Linked DNA regions of Homo sapiens: regions 1, 3 and 4 are each linked to region 2. The links are contacts of gene promoters, found by promoter capture Hi-C in human tissues and cell types (Jung and others, 2019). All regions are on one chromosome and are shown on one strand. The core of a region is centred on a gene start or on the middle of the fragment in contact, and the rest is flanking DNA. Distances in the headings are between cores, read along the strand shown. Region 1 has its middle 65 kb from the start of LRPPRC. Region 2 holds the start of SIX3 (SIX homeobox 3). Region 3 has its middle 86 kb from the start of LRPPRC. Region 4 overlaps PPM1B (protein phosphatase, Mg2+/Mn2+ dependent 1B).

Region 1 (2,700 bases), core at 188-2,687, 880 kb before region 2:
AGTCCAAGTCCAAAGTCTCATCTGAGACAAGGCAAGTCCATCCTGCCTATGAGCCTGTAAAATCAAAATCAAATTAGTTACTTCCTAGATACAATGGGGGTCCAGGCATTGGATAAACACACCCACTCCAAATGGGAGAAATTGGCCAAAACAAAGGGGATACTGGCCCCATGAAAGTCCAAAATCCATAGGGCAGGCATTAAACCTTAAAGGTGCAAAATAATCTCCTTTGACTCCATGTCTCACATCCAGGCCGTGCTGATGCAACAGGTGGGCTCCCACAGCCTTGGGCAGTTCCACCCCTGTGGCTTTGCAGGTTACATCCCCGCTCCTGGCTGCTTTCACAGGCTGGTGTTGAGTGTCTGCAGCTCTTCCAGGCGCATGGTGCAAGCTGTTGGTAGATCTACCATTCTGGGGTCTGGAGGATGGTGGACCTTTTCTCACAGCTCCATTAGGCAGTGCCCCAGTGGGGACTTTGTGTGGGGACTCCAACTCTACATTTCCCTTCCTCACTGCCCTAGCAGAGGTTCTCCATGAGGGTTCTGCCCCTGCAGCAAACTTCTGCCTGGACATCCAGGCATTTTCATACATCCTCTGAAATCTAGGCAAAGGTTCCCAAACCTCAGTTCTTGACTTCTGTGCACCAACAGACTCAACACCACATGGAAGTTGCTAAGGCTTGAGGCTTCCACTCTCTGAAGCCATGGCCTGAGCTGTACCTTGGCCCCTTTTAGGCACAGCTGGAGTGGCTGAGATGCAGGGCACCAAGTCCCTAGGCTAACACACAGCAGGGGGTCCCTGGGCCTGACCTAAGAAACCATTTCCTTCCTCCTAGGTCTCTGGGCCAGAGATGGGAGAGGCTGCTGTGAAGGTCTCTAACAGGCCCTGGAGACATTTTCCCCATTGTCTTGGTGATTAACATTTGGCACCTCGTTACTTATGCAAATTTCTGCAGCTGGCTTGAATTTCTCCCCAGAAAATGGGGTTTTTGTTTCTATTGCATCAGCAGGCTGCAAATTTTCCAAACTTTTATGCTCTGCCTCCTCTTGAGTACTTTGCCGCTTAGGAATTTCTTCTACCAGATACCCTAAAACATCTCTCTCAAGTTCAAAGTTCCAAAGATCTCTAGGGCAGAGGCAAAATTCCAGCAGTCTCATTGCATAGCAAGAGTCACCTTTACTCCAGTTCCCAAGAAGTTCTTCATCTCCATCTGAGACCACCTCAGCCTGGACTTCATCATCCTTATCACTATCAGCACTTTGATCAAAGCCATTCATCAAGTCTTTAGGAAGTTCCAAACTTTCCCACATCTTCCTGTCTTCTGAGCTCTCTAAGTCTCTAGGAGTAAAAAGAGTAGAGAAAGGGGAGGTGACACCAAGGTTCATTAAGGTATATTGACCTGCAGGTGATGAGAAGTCAATATTGATTTCTAGTGGAAAGTTTTACTGTGAATCAAAATCCAAAGTACAAAAGAGTTGTTTGATGTTTTCTATCACAATACAGCTCACTGATGTGTAGGCTTGGCTATAATTTCATTTTGCCTCCTGGGGCAAAGTTTATAACAAGTACATTTGAAGGCAGAAACATGTTCTTTTCCCTAGGTGGGTTGAAAGGGTTGCCTCAGGTCTGGCTGTGTCAGTGAGGGCTGTCATGCAAAAAAGGAAAACACAGGTAACCAATCCTGCGTCTTCCTCCCCGTTGCTCTGCGCTGCTCCGAAAAGTCCCCATTCTGGCTCCCTTTTTCTTCTTTTTTTTAAAAAAAATTTAAAAGTAAACTTTAATGTCAAAAATGAAAACTTGGGGAGGGCAGAAAGATCACACACACGGCAGCCACTTCACACTTGGAGGGTTGCACAGCAGCCGGGCAGAGGTGCTCCTCACTTCCCAGGCAGGGTGGCCTCTGGGCAGAGGGGCCACTTCCCAGACGGTGTGGCGGCCGGGCGAGGCGCTCCTCTCTTCCCAGACGGAGCGGCGACTGGGCAGAGGCGCTTCTCACTTGCCAGATGGTGGGGCGGCCGGGCAGAGGCTCTCCTCACTTCAGAAATAAGTCCCAGAACCAATGTCTCTCTCTGTTCTTTGCCCCAACCTCCCTGTCGCTCTGGTCCTTTTTCCCGAAGAAGCAATAGAAGGGACCCTCTCTGGAATTTGCTTATCTGACTTCTAAGAACGCTTAAATGCAATTGTCTTAAGACTCCCTCCCTGGGGATCTCATCAACTAACCAGGAATGATCAACCATGAGAGAAGAGACTCAAGTCATCACCATGCCGAGGCTGACTTTTCCTCTGTTATGCGGGTAGCTCCAAGAGATTACCCGCAGCGGGGAACTTTAGTTGCATAATAAGACAACCTTTGTTCCTGTGAAGCAACCTCTGTTCCTTACGTTTCTGTACTGGTGGCCTCCCAACGCCATTCGTTCTCCCTAATGATTTACTACCCCTTCAAAGAATTGTCTACAATTCCCATCTCCCCCCTCCCTTATGAAAAAAGGGGAGCTTCTGGACTGCACTGTTTTTTGGGTGATCAGTCTGTAATTTCCTCCCATGCATGTTAATGTTTTTATGCCTTTTCTCCAATGAATCTACCTTTAGTCAGTTGGTTTTCAGTGAATTTTCAGACACTTCCCTGGAGGAGACATGAGGGCTTTAGGTGGCAACCTAGGGAGGTTACAGGGAGCTGCTCTTGGCAACTATAACTGTAAG
Region 2 (2,723 bases), core at 214-2,713:
AATGTGGTCATTGTTGGCTACTGTGTGTGAATCCATTCAACATATACACTTTTTAACACCAAACCGAGTCCTGTCTAAATATACACAGTGCTCAGGGAAAGACGTCTCTGACCCCGACAAATCTGCGTAAATCACACTTCCATAGTTACAGAAGCCTCACAAAGGGAGGCCCGGCTCAAGATGCTGATTACAGCTTCTTAAAAGCAACATACCTAAGAATAAATACCCATGCCTGGCCTAGGGGCTGTGGTGGCCAGAGGCAGAGAGGGCCCTCTGTGTTCTATGGGCCTTTTGGCGTCTGTTTTAGGCTTTCGATGTTACTTTCCCTAGAGAAATTAGACAGTTTAAAAATAATAATGGTAATTATTATTATTTTACAATACGAGCAAACAAGCAATTTTCAGGCCTTATTCACTTCATCCGGGTGGCTGGCCTCCAAAGTTTGAGTGCCCTCTGGGGCTGGCAGGCAGGACCAGAGCTCCTTCTGTTGTGTGGTGAGGAGTGGGCATCTGTAGGACTTTTCTGGGTCCAGAGGGCTCTTGGGCTTCTCGGCTCCCGCAGCTCCTCCACCACTCCTCAGAGAGGCAGCTGAATTCTGGGAAGAAACAAAGAGTTGAGTTGCTTCTTAAGATGGAAAGAAGTGTACTGTTTGGACTGTTATTTTAAAATACAGGGTGGTGGGGGAAATCGAGGCTCCTTGGCCGGGGAGGGAGTAAAGAGAAGCCTAATTGATGAAGAGGGAGTTGAGGTGAATGCGGTCCATGGGCACCGATGGGGGAGGCAAGAGCGGCCTCCAGCACCCTGGGAATTGGGCTCAGGCTCCCTGGCGCCAGATACCCTCGGAATCCGGGATCCCCGGCTGGCGCCACGGCCCGCTGGGCCAAGGTCGGTGCTTGGTGGGCCCCATGATCTCATCTCTCCTTTCTTCCTTGCCACTATTAGTGCTCACATAGGCAGAAAGAGGCGGCCCGACGTGCAAACCATGTGCAAACCGCGCCCGCTGGGCTGGTCAGCCGTCTTTCCTTGCCTGCCGACCTGGACTATGTGGAGCCTGGGGGACCCTCTTGCCTCCCAACAAAATCCCCTCTCTAATTGCACATCCCATTCAACAACTCTGCCCAGGGCTTTTCGAATTTCTGGATCAACTTCTTTAGGAAAAAGGGAAGAAGAAGTCTCAGAGACAGCGGTAGAGAAAAGAGGAGAGAGAGGGAGAAGAGAGAAGAGAGGAGGGGGAGGTAGCGAGATTAAGAGTTGCAAAGATAAAAAAAATTCTCTTTATCCCCCCACTTCTCCCTCCTTCCCTGCTCTCCCCCTCCCCCCGCCCTCTGGCTAAGTGGTAAAACCGTCCTTACGTTCTCGGTATTGATTGGCAGGGCTGACAGTGATTGGCAGTGGTTGCCGTGGCAACGCCACAACGACACGCCACAGACCAATAGAAAAGCGAAACAAAATGTTTCAATGCTGCACTCACTGTGGATTTAGGGGAGATATTATGAGGCTGTTGTCATTAGGGCGATTGCGGTGGAATCGCTGAATCTTGACTCGGCGGTGGTTGGCTCTCCCTCTCCTCTCTCCCTCTCCCTCTCCCTCTCTGTCTCGGGTTCTCTCTCTGCGCGCGCGCACCGGGCCGCTCTCCTACCTCCCTCTCTATGTGGCTGCGCGGGTGTGTGTGTGTGTGGATGTGTGTGGGGTGTGGGTGTCCCTTACGCCCTTCCTCCTCTCCCTCCTCCTCCTGCTCCCCCCTCCTTTCCTTCTCCTCCTCCCCCCTCTCCTCTCCCTCCTCCTGGTCCTCATCGCCCCTCTCCTCCTCTTCCTCCCCTCTCTCTTCCTCTCCCTGAATTTTCTCCTCTCCTCTCAGGTCAGTCCATGGTATTCCGCTCCCCCCTAGACCTCTATTCCTCCCACTTCTTGTTGCCAAACTTCGCCGATTCTCACCACCGCTCCATACTTCTGGCGAGTAGCGGCGGCGGGAACGGTGCGGGAGGCGGCGGCGGCGCGGGAGGCGGCAGCGGCGGCGGGAACGGTGCGGGAGGCGGCGGTGCTGGCGGAGCAGGCGGCGGCGGCGGCGGCGGCTCCAGGGCCCCCCCGGAAGAGTTGTCCATGTTCCAGCTGCCCACCCTCAACTTCTCGCCGGAGCAGGTGGCCAGCGTCTGTGAGACGCTGGAGGAGACGGGCGACATCGAGCGGCTGGGCCGCTTCCTCTGGTCGCTGCCCGTGGCCCCCGGGGCGTGCGAGGCCATCAACAAACACGAGTCGATCCTGCGCGCGCGCGCCGTGGTCGCCTTCCACACGGGCAACTTCCGCGACCTCTACCACATCCTTGAGAACCACAAGTTCACCAAGGAGTCTCACGGCAAGCTGCAGGCCATGTGGCTCGAGGCGCACTACCAGGAGGCCGAGAAGCTGCGCGGCCGCCCACTCGGCCCGGTGGACAAGTACCGCGTGCGCAAGAAGTTCCCGCTGCCACGCACCATCTGGGACGGCGAGCAGAAGACGCATTGCTTCAAGGAGCGGACTCGGAGCCTGTTGCGGGAGTGGTACCTACAGGACCCCTACCCCAACCCCAGCAAGAAACGCGAACTGGCGCAGGCCACCGGCCTCACTCCCACACAAGTAGGCAACTGGTTTAAGAACCGGCGGCAGCGCGACCGCGCCGCGGCGGCCAAGAACAGGTTAGTGGCGGGGCCCGCGGCCTGGCTACAGCCTCAGAGGCCTGGGAAGGG
Region 3 (2,873 bases), core at 322-2,821, 860 kb before region 2:
GCCCAGGAGTTTGAGACCAGCCTGGGCAACATAGGGAGACCCCATGTCTACGAAATTAAAAAAAAAAAAATTAGCTGTGTGTGGTGGCATGCACCTCTAGTCCCAACTACTCTGGAGGCTGAGGTGGGAGGATCATTTGAGCCCAGGAGGTCGAGGCTGTAGTGAGTTCAGATCACATCACTACACTCCATCCTGAGCAACACAGCGATACCCTGCCTCAAACAAACAAACAAACAAACAACAAAATAAAGCACAACACTAAGCAATTAATGGTGCAGGTGTTATTTGAATACGGTCACAATTGTGAATGAGTTATGCAAATGACTGAAGTTTGGGAAACACTGATATAGTCCATGTTGTATAATTTTTTTTTTATCACCCTGGAAAGAAATGCAGTTATTATTATTATTATTTTTTTTTTTTGAGACAGAGTCTTGCTCTGTTGCCCAGACTGGAGTGCAGTGGTGCGATCTTGGCTCACTGCAACCTCTGCCTCCCGGGTTCAAGCGATTCTTCTACCTCAGCCTCCCGAGTAGCTGGGACTACAAGTACGCACCACCATGCCCGGCTAATTTTCGTATTTTTAGTACAGACAGAGTTTCACCATATTGGCCAGGCTGGTGTTGAATTCCTGACCTCGTGATCCGCCCGCCTCAGCCTCCCAAAGTGCTGGGATTACAGGTGTGAGCCACTGCGCCTGGTCAAGAGATATATTTTATAATGCCTGCCAACCCATACATACATACATTTATGCAGGAGTACAAAGCTTTTGTGAAACAACATTATTCCTGTTTGTGTGATGCACTCTGGACCCTAGATGCATTTGACTTTCACTTTCCCTTTCTTTCCCCTTCTCCTCATATCTCTAAATCCTTTCTGTCAGTTCTGCCGCTGCTGCCTTTTTTTTTTTTTTTTCCGAAAAAGAGTCTTGCTCTGTCGCCCAAGCTGGAGTGCAGTGGTGCCATCTCAGCTCACTGCAACCTCTACCTCCGTGGTTCAAGCGATTCTCCTGCCTCAGCTTACCAAGTAGCTGGGATTACAGGTGCACGCCACCCCGCTTGGCTTTTTTTCTTTTCAGAAACAGGTTCTCACTCTGTCACCCAGGCTGAAATGCAGTGGCACAGTTATGGCTCACTGCAGCATCGACCTCCTGTGCTCAAGCAATCCTCCCACCTCTGTCTCCTAAAGCACTGGGATTACAAGCATGTGCCACCATACCCAGGCCAGTTCTCCTTCTAAAAGGTCTTTATTCATTCTCTTTCTCATCTCCAGTGCTTCAGTCCTGGTCTATGCCCCATCACCTTTCACTTGGACTATATCTTAACTCATCTTGTCACTTCCAATCCAATTTTTCCCCTTCAATAAACCCTCCACACTATTGCCAAAAAGATCTTTCAAAAACTCTGATTTGGTGGGCATGGTGGCTCACGCCTGTTATCCTAGCACTTTGGAAGGCCGAGGCAGGCAGATGGCTTCAACACAAGAGTTCAAGACCAGCCTAGGCAACATGGTGAAACCCTGTCTCTACAAAAAATAAAAAAAATTAGCCAGGCATAGTGGCACATATCTGTAATCCCAGCTACCCGGGAGGCTGAGGTGGGAGGATCGCTTGAGCCCAGGAGTTTGAGGCCACTGGGATCATGCCACTGCACTACAGACTAGGCAACAGAGCGAGACCCTGTCTCAGTAAAAAAAACACAAACTCTGATTTGGCCCTGTCATGCCCCAGGGCACAGGAGAAAGTCCAAGCTACTCAGTAAGACTTTAAAGGAATTTGGTTGCTGGTGCCTGCTGACCTTCCCATACTCAAATGCTGGCACATCAGGACTTGAAACCCTTCTAGATTCTCGAATCGAGTGCTCTTCTCAAGACATCATACTGCCTCCTCAAAGACACTCTCCTGGTTGTTCTCATTCCACATGTGATACCTGCAGAGGTGACTCCTGCCTCTCTGGCACAGGGCATTTTGAGTAAACCCTGTTCTGAAATAAACAGAATGTCACAAAGTAGGTTGGACATGAAGGGTATTGTGTCTTTGAACACATAATATAATCAGTGGAGGTCACAGAATGAACTAGTGATCAAAGTGAATCAAAAGGAAATTAAAAGTGGACCGGGCGCAGTGGCTCACATCTGTAATCCCAGCACTTTGGGAGGCTGAAGTGGGTGGATTACCTGAGGTCAGAAGTTTGAGACCAGCCTGGACAACATGGTGAAACCCCGTCTCTACTAAAAATACAAAAATTAGCCAGGCGTGGTGGCCGGCGCCTGTAATCTCAGCTACTCGGGAGGCTAAGGCAGAATTGCTTGAACCCGGGAGGTAGATATTGCAGTGAGCCAAGATCCTGCCGCTACACTCCAGCCTGGGTGACACAGCCAGAGTCCATCTCAAAAAGAAAAAAAAAAGGGAAATTAGAAGTGTTTATTAGGCAACACTGCACTCACACTGGAGCCCGCCAATACTGCACAATGATCTGTGCCAGCCCCACTTTGCAATTCTCCCACAAGAAGCCAATGTCTCCAGGGAGCAGACAATGACCCACTGCTTATATTTCAGTCTGGATTAGTTCACAACTGAGCTGTCACTTCCAGCGGTCTTCTGTGGGGTTTGATGTGCCCCCTTGCCAAGGACAGCAATGTGAGTCCTGAGACTTTTGGCCCACTGCTGTCCCAGCGGCCTTGGGCATTTCTGGTACAAAGGGTAAGAGTGTCAGAAACCTGTGAGATTGAAAGGCCTTTAACAGCTTCTATTAAATGTTTGCTTATTCATTTATCTAAAAAATATTTATCCAAAAAATATTTATCCAGCATATACTACATGTCAGGCACTAGACTACGTGTGAAGAGATAATGGTGAGCAAGACAGGTGGGGT
Region 4 (2,700 bases), core at 169-2,668, 770 kb before region 2:
CTGGCAGCACGGTGAAACCCCATCTCTACTAAAATACAGAAAATTAGCTGGGTGTGGCGGCATGTGCCTGTAATCCTAGCTACTCAGGAGGCTGAGACAGGAGAATCGCTTGAACCCAGGAGGTGGAGGTTCAACCCAGCTGAAATCGCGCCACTGCATTCCAGCCTGGGCAAAAGTGAGACTCCGTCTCAAAAAAAACAAAAGTGGGGGTGGGGGAACATAATTAATTCAAAGCACTCCAAATGTTAAGATTATATAGGAGATTTTGTTGAGCTTTGGGAGGCTTTCTGCTTTTATTTACTCTGAGCTACCAACCCACTGAGAAGTAAAGAATTCAGAACAGTCTAATAGTATTTAGTCTGTAACCCTCCAGCCAATTCTTATGTTCACTGAGTGCCTTCTGTGTGCAAAGGCCCCCATTTCATGCCAGTATCTGAACAAAACAGACAAAATCCCAAATCCTTGTCGTTGACGATCTTGCATTCTGTTAACCAGCAACTCACAGTTTACATTACAGCTGAACTCCTTATGTGGCTGGCTTAAAAACTTGAGTGGAAGATTTGGGGTGTGTGTGTTTTGTACACTAAACTTAAAAGCTGTGATTAGAGCTTTACTATTTTTAACAAAAGGAAAGGAAGAGGTTTTCTGTAATTGGATAAAAACTAGACTGAAAAGAGGAAAGAGGAAATATTGTTGTGCCTTAGAGAAAGACATTGGTTTGAGATTTTTTTTTTTTTTTTTTGAGACGGAGTCTCACTCTGTCACCCAGGCTGGAGTGCAGTGGTATGATCTCGGCTCACTGCAACCTCCGCCTCCCAGGTTCAGACAATTCTCCTGCCTCAGTCTCCCGAGTAGCTGGGATCACAGGCATGCACCACCACACCTGGCTAATTTTTGTACTTTTAGTAGAGATGGGGTTTCACTATGTTGGTCATGCTGGTCTGGAACTCCTGACCTCATGATCCACCTGCCTCGGCCTCCCCAAGTGCTGGGATTACAGGCGTGAGTCACCATGCCCTGCCTGGTTTAAGATTAAAAGATGACCCAAAGAGAGAAAAAGAGATCCCTGCATTAGACAGACATGAGGGAAATTTGGGGCCTTCAGGTGTTTCCATTTACTGTACATCCTTGGATAGATGAGTTCCTGGAAAGGAGGATGGGAGTAAAGGTGGAACAATAGGAGAAGGGTGAACAGGATTTTTTAAGTCTGATTTAAATAATTGGGATATACCTATAAAATATATGTTGTCATTTATGTTTAAAAAGCTTTCTGTTCTTACGTGAGTATAGCTGAAGGATTAGTGGTTGACCAATAGTGCCTGGTACTGATTTGTAATGGCTACTTTTGTGCTCTTAGCAAAGATGGCTAATGGAGCCAATTTGTCTCTTGGTTTATTGTGCACAACTTGGTCTATATATTTATCACTGCTTCTCCTTCCATAGCTTTGTTGTATTACTTAACGTCGTGCCTTTGTTTTTTCTGCATGTGAGATGGGCGTATTGCACTTAGATGTGTGAAGCAGGTGCTTAATTTTTGCTTTCTGTTCTTTCTATTGCTTTCCTACTGAACCAGTTTGGTAAAGAGGCCTCTTCTTCAGTTTATACAAACATTGCAAACTTAAGCATAAAAGATCTTTCATCTTTTTGTTCTTATTTTAATGCTTGGTGGTCTTGTGCTTTCATTTATGAGTCAGTTTCATTTGATCTTCATTGCTAAAGTGAATCAAGATTGATTTTTTTAATTTTAAAGCAAATCAACCAACTGGCTGGGGTGCAGTGGTGCAATCTCGGCTCATTGCAGCCGCCACCTCCCAGTTCAAGCGATTCTCCTGCCTCAGCCTCCCAAGTAGCTGGGATTACAGGCCTGCGGCACCACGCCCAGCTAATTTTGTATTTTTCGTAGAGACGGGGTTTCACCATGTTGGCCAAGCTGGTCTCAAACTCCTGACCTCAGGTGATCTGCCCGCCTCAGCCTTCCAAAGTGCTGGGATTACAGGCATGAGCCACCGTGCCCGGCCTAGTTTCATTTTTAATGTATTTTTGTAATTCTGTTACTTTATCAAAATGCTGATATGCAAGAGAACTTGAAATTTTGGAATATATTAAATTTAGTACTGTAATTCAGACCAGATTCATTAAGTTGTTCAACATTTGGCCATCTATCTTAGATTTAAAAATAACCAAAAACAACCTTACTTGAATTTAAAAAAATTATCTCTTGTAACTGGTTTTGTTTATATAATCTAACATTTTATTAAGTCTTTGGTGGTTGCTAGTCCTAAACTTAAGGAAATTGAGTTTGTTTCTATTCATCTGTTCTGGAGTGTTTGGAATTGCAATGTGAAAGTGAAATAACCTTTTTTTTTTTTTTTTTGAGACGGAGTTTTGCTCTTGTTGCCCAGGCTGGAGTGTAGTGGCATGATCTCGGCTCACTGCAGCCTCCGCCTTCAGGTTTTAAGTAATTCTCCTGTCTCAGCCTCGTGAGTAGCTGAGATTACAGGCACGTGCCACCACGCTCAGCTAATTTTTGTATTTTTAGTAGAGACAGGGGTCTCACCATGTTGGCCAGGCTGGTCTCGAACTCCTGACCTCAAGATCTGCCCGCCTCGGCCTCCCAAAGTGCTGGGATTACAGACATGAGCCACCGCGCCCGGCCTACATGTATGTATTTCTAAATAGCATATAGTACTGTTTTAAGAG

The links. Contacts are between HindIII fragments. The study calls those that stand out against the background at their distance.
Region 1: a fragment that was not itself captured here is called in contact with the fragment with the promoter of SIX3 in region 2 in 2 of the 25 tissues and cell types used here (H1 embryonic stem cells and lymphoblastoid cells).
Region 3: a fragment that was not itself captured here is called in contact with the fragment with the promoter of SIX3 in region 2 in 1 of the 25 tissues and cell types used here (H1 embryonic stem cells).
Region 4: a fragment that was not itself captured here is called in contact with the fragment with the promoter of SIX3 in region 2 in 1 of the 25 tissues and cell types used here (H1 embryonic stem cells).

What each region holds. Positions count from the first base shown.
Region 1 is chr2:44,059,702-44,062,401 of GRCh38, forward strand. No RefSeq gene overlaps it. Among named protein-coding and RNA genes, the nearest start is that of LRPPRC, 65 kb to the left of the region's middle. RefSeq lists enhancers at 618-1,153, 1,989-2,562. The HindIII fragment of the contact is 6,972 bases long and covers 1-2,700 here.
Region 2 is chr2:44,940,239-44,942,961 of GRCh38, forward strand. It overlaps SIX3 (SIX homeobox 3), which reads left to right and starts at 1,464. Exons shown (of 2, transcript NM_005413.4): 1 at 1,464-2,672. The coding sequence starts at 1,867. SIX3-AS1 (SIX3 antisense RNA 1) reads right to left here and starts at 1,640. Exons shown (of 2, transcript NR_103786.1): 1 at 1,472-1,640; 2 at 1-595. RefSeq lists enhancers at 1-129, 898-1,424, 2,507-2,723. The HindIII fragment of the contact is 28,963 bases long and covers 1-2,723 here.
Region 3 is chr2:44,080,716-44,083,588 of GRCh38, forward strand. No RefSeq gene overlaps it. Among named protein-coding and RNA genes, the nearest start is that of LRPPRC, 86 kb to the left of the region's middle. The HindIII fragment of the contact is 8,452 bases long and covers 1-2,873 here.
Region 4 is chr2:44,175,062-44,177,761 of GRCh38, forward strand. All of the region lies in intron 1 of PPM1B (protein phosphatase, Mg2+/Mn2+ dependent 1B), which reads left to right. Among named protein-coding and RNA genes, the nearest start is that of PPM1B, 7.5 kb to the left of the region's middle. The HindIII fragment of the contact is 5,147 bases long and covers 1-2,700 here.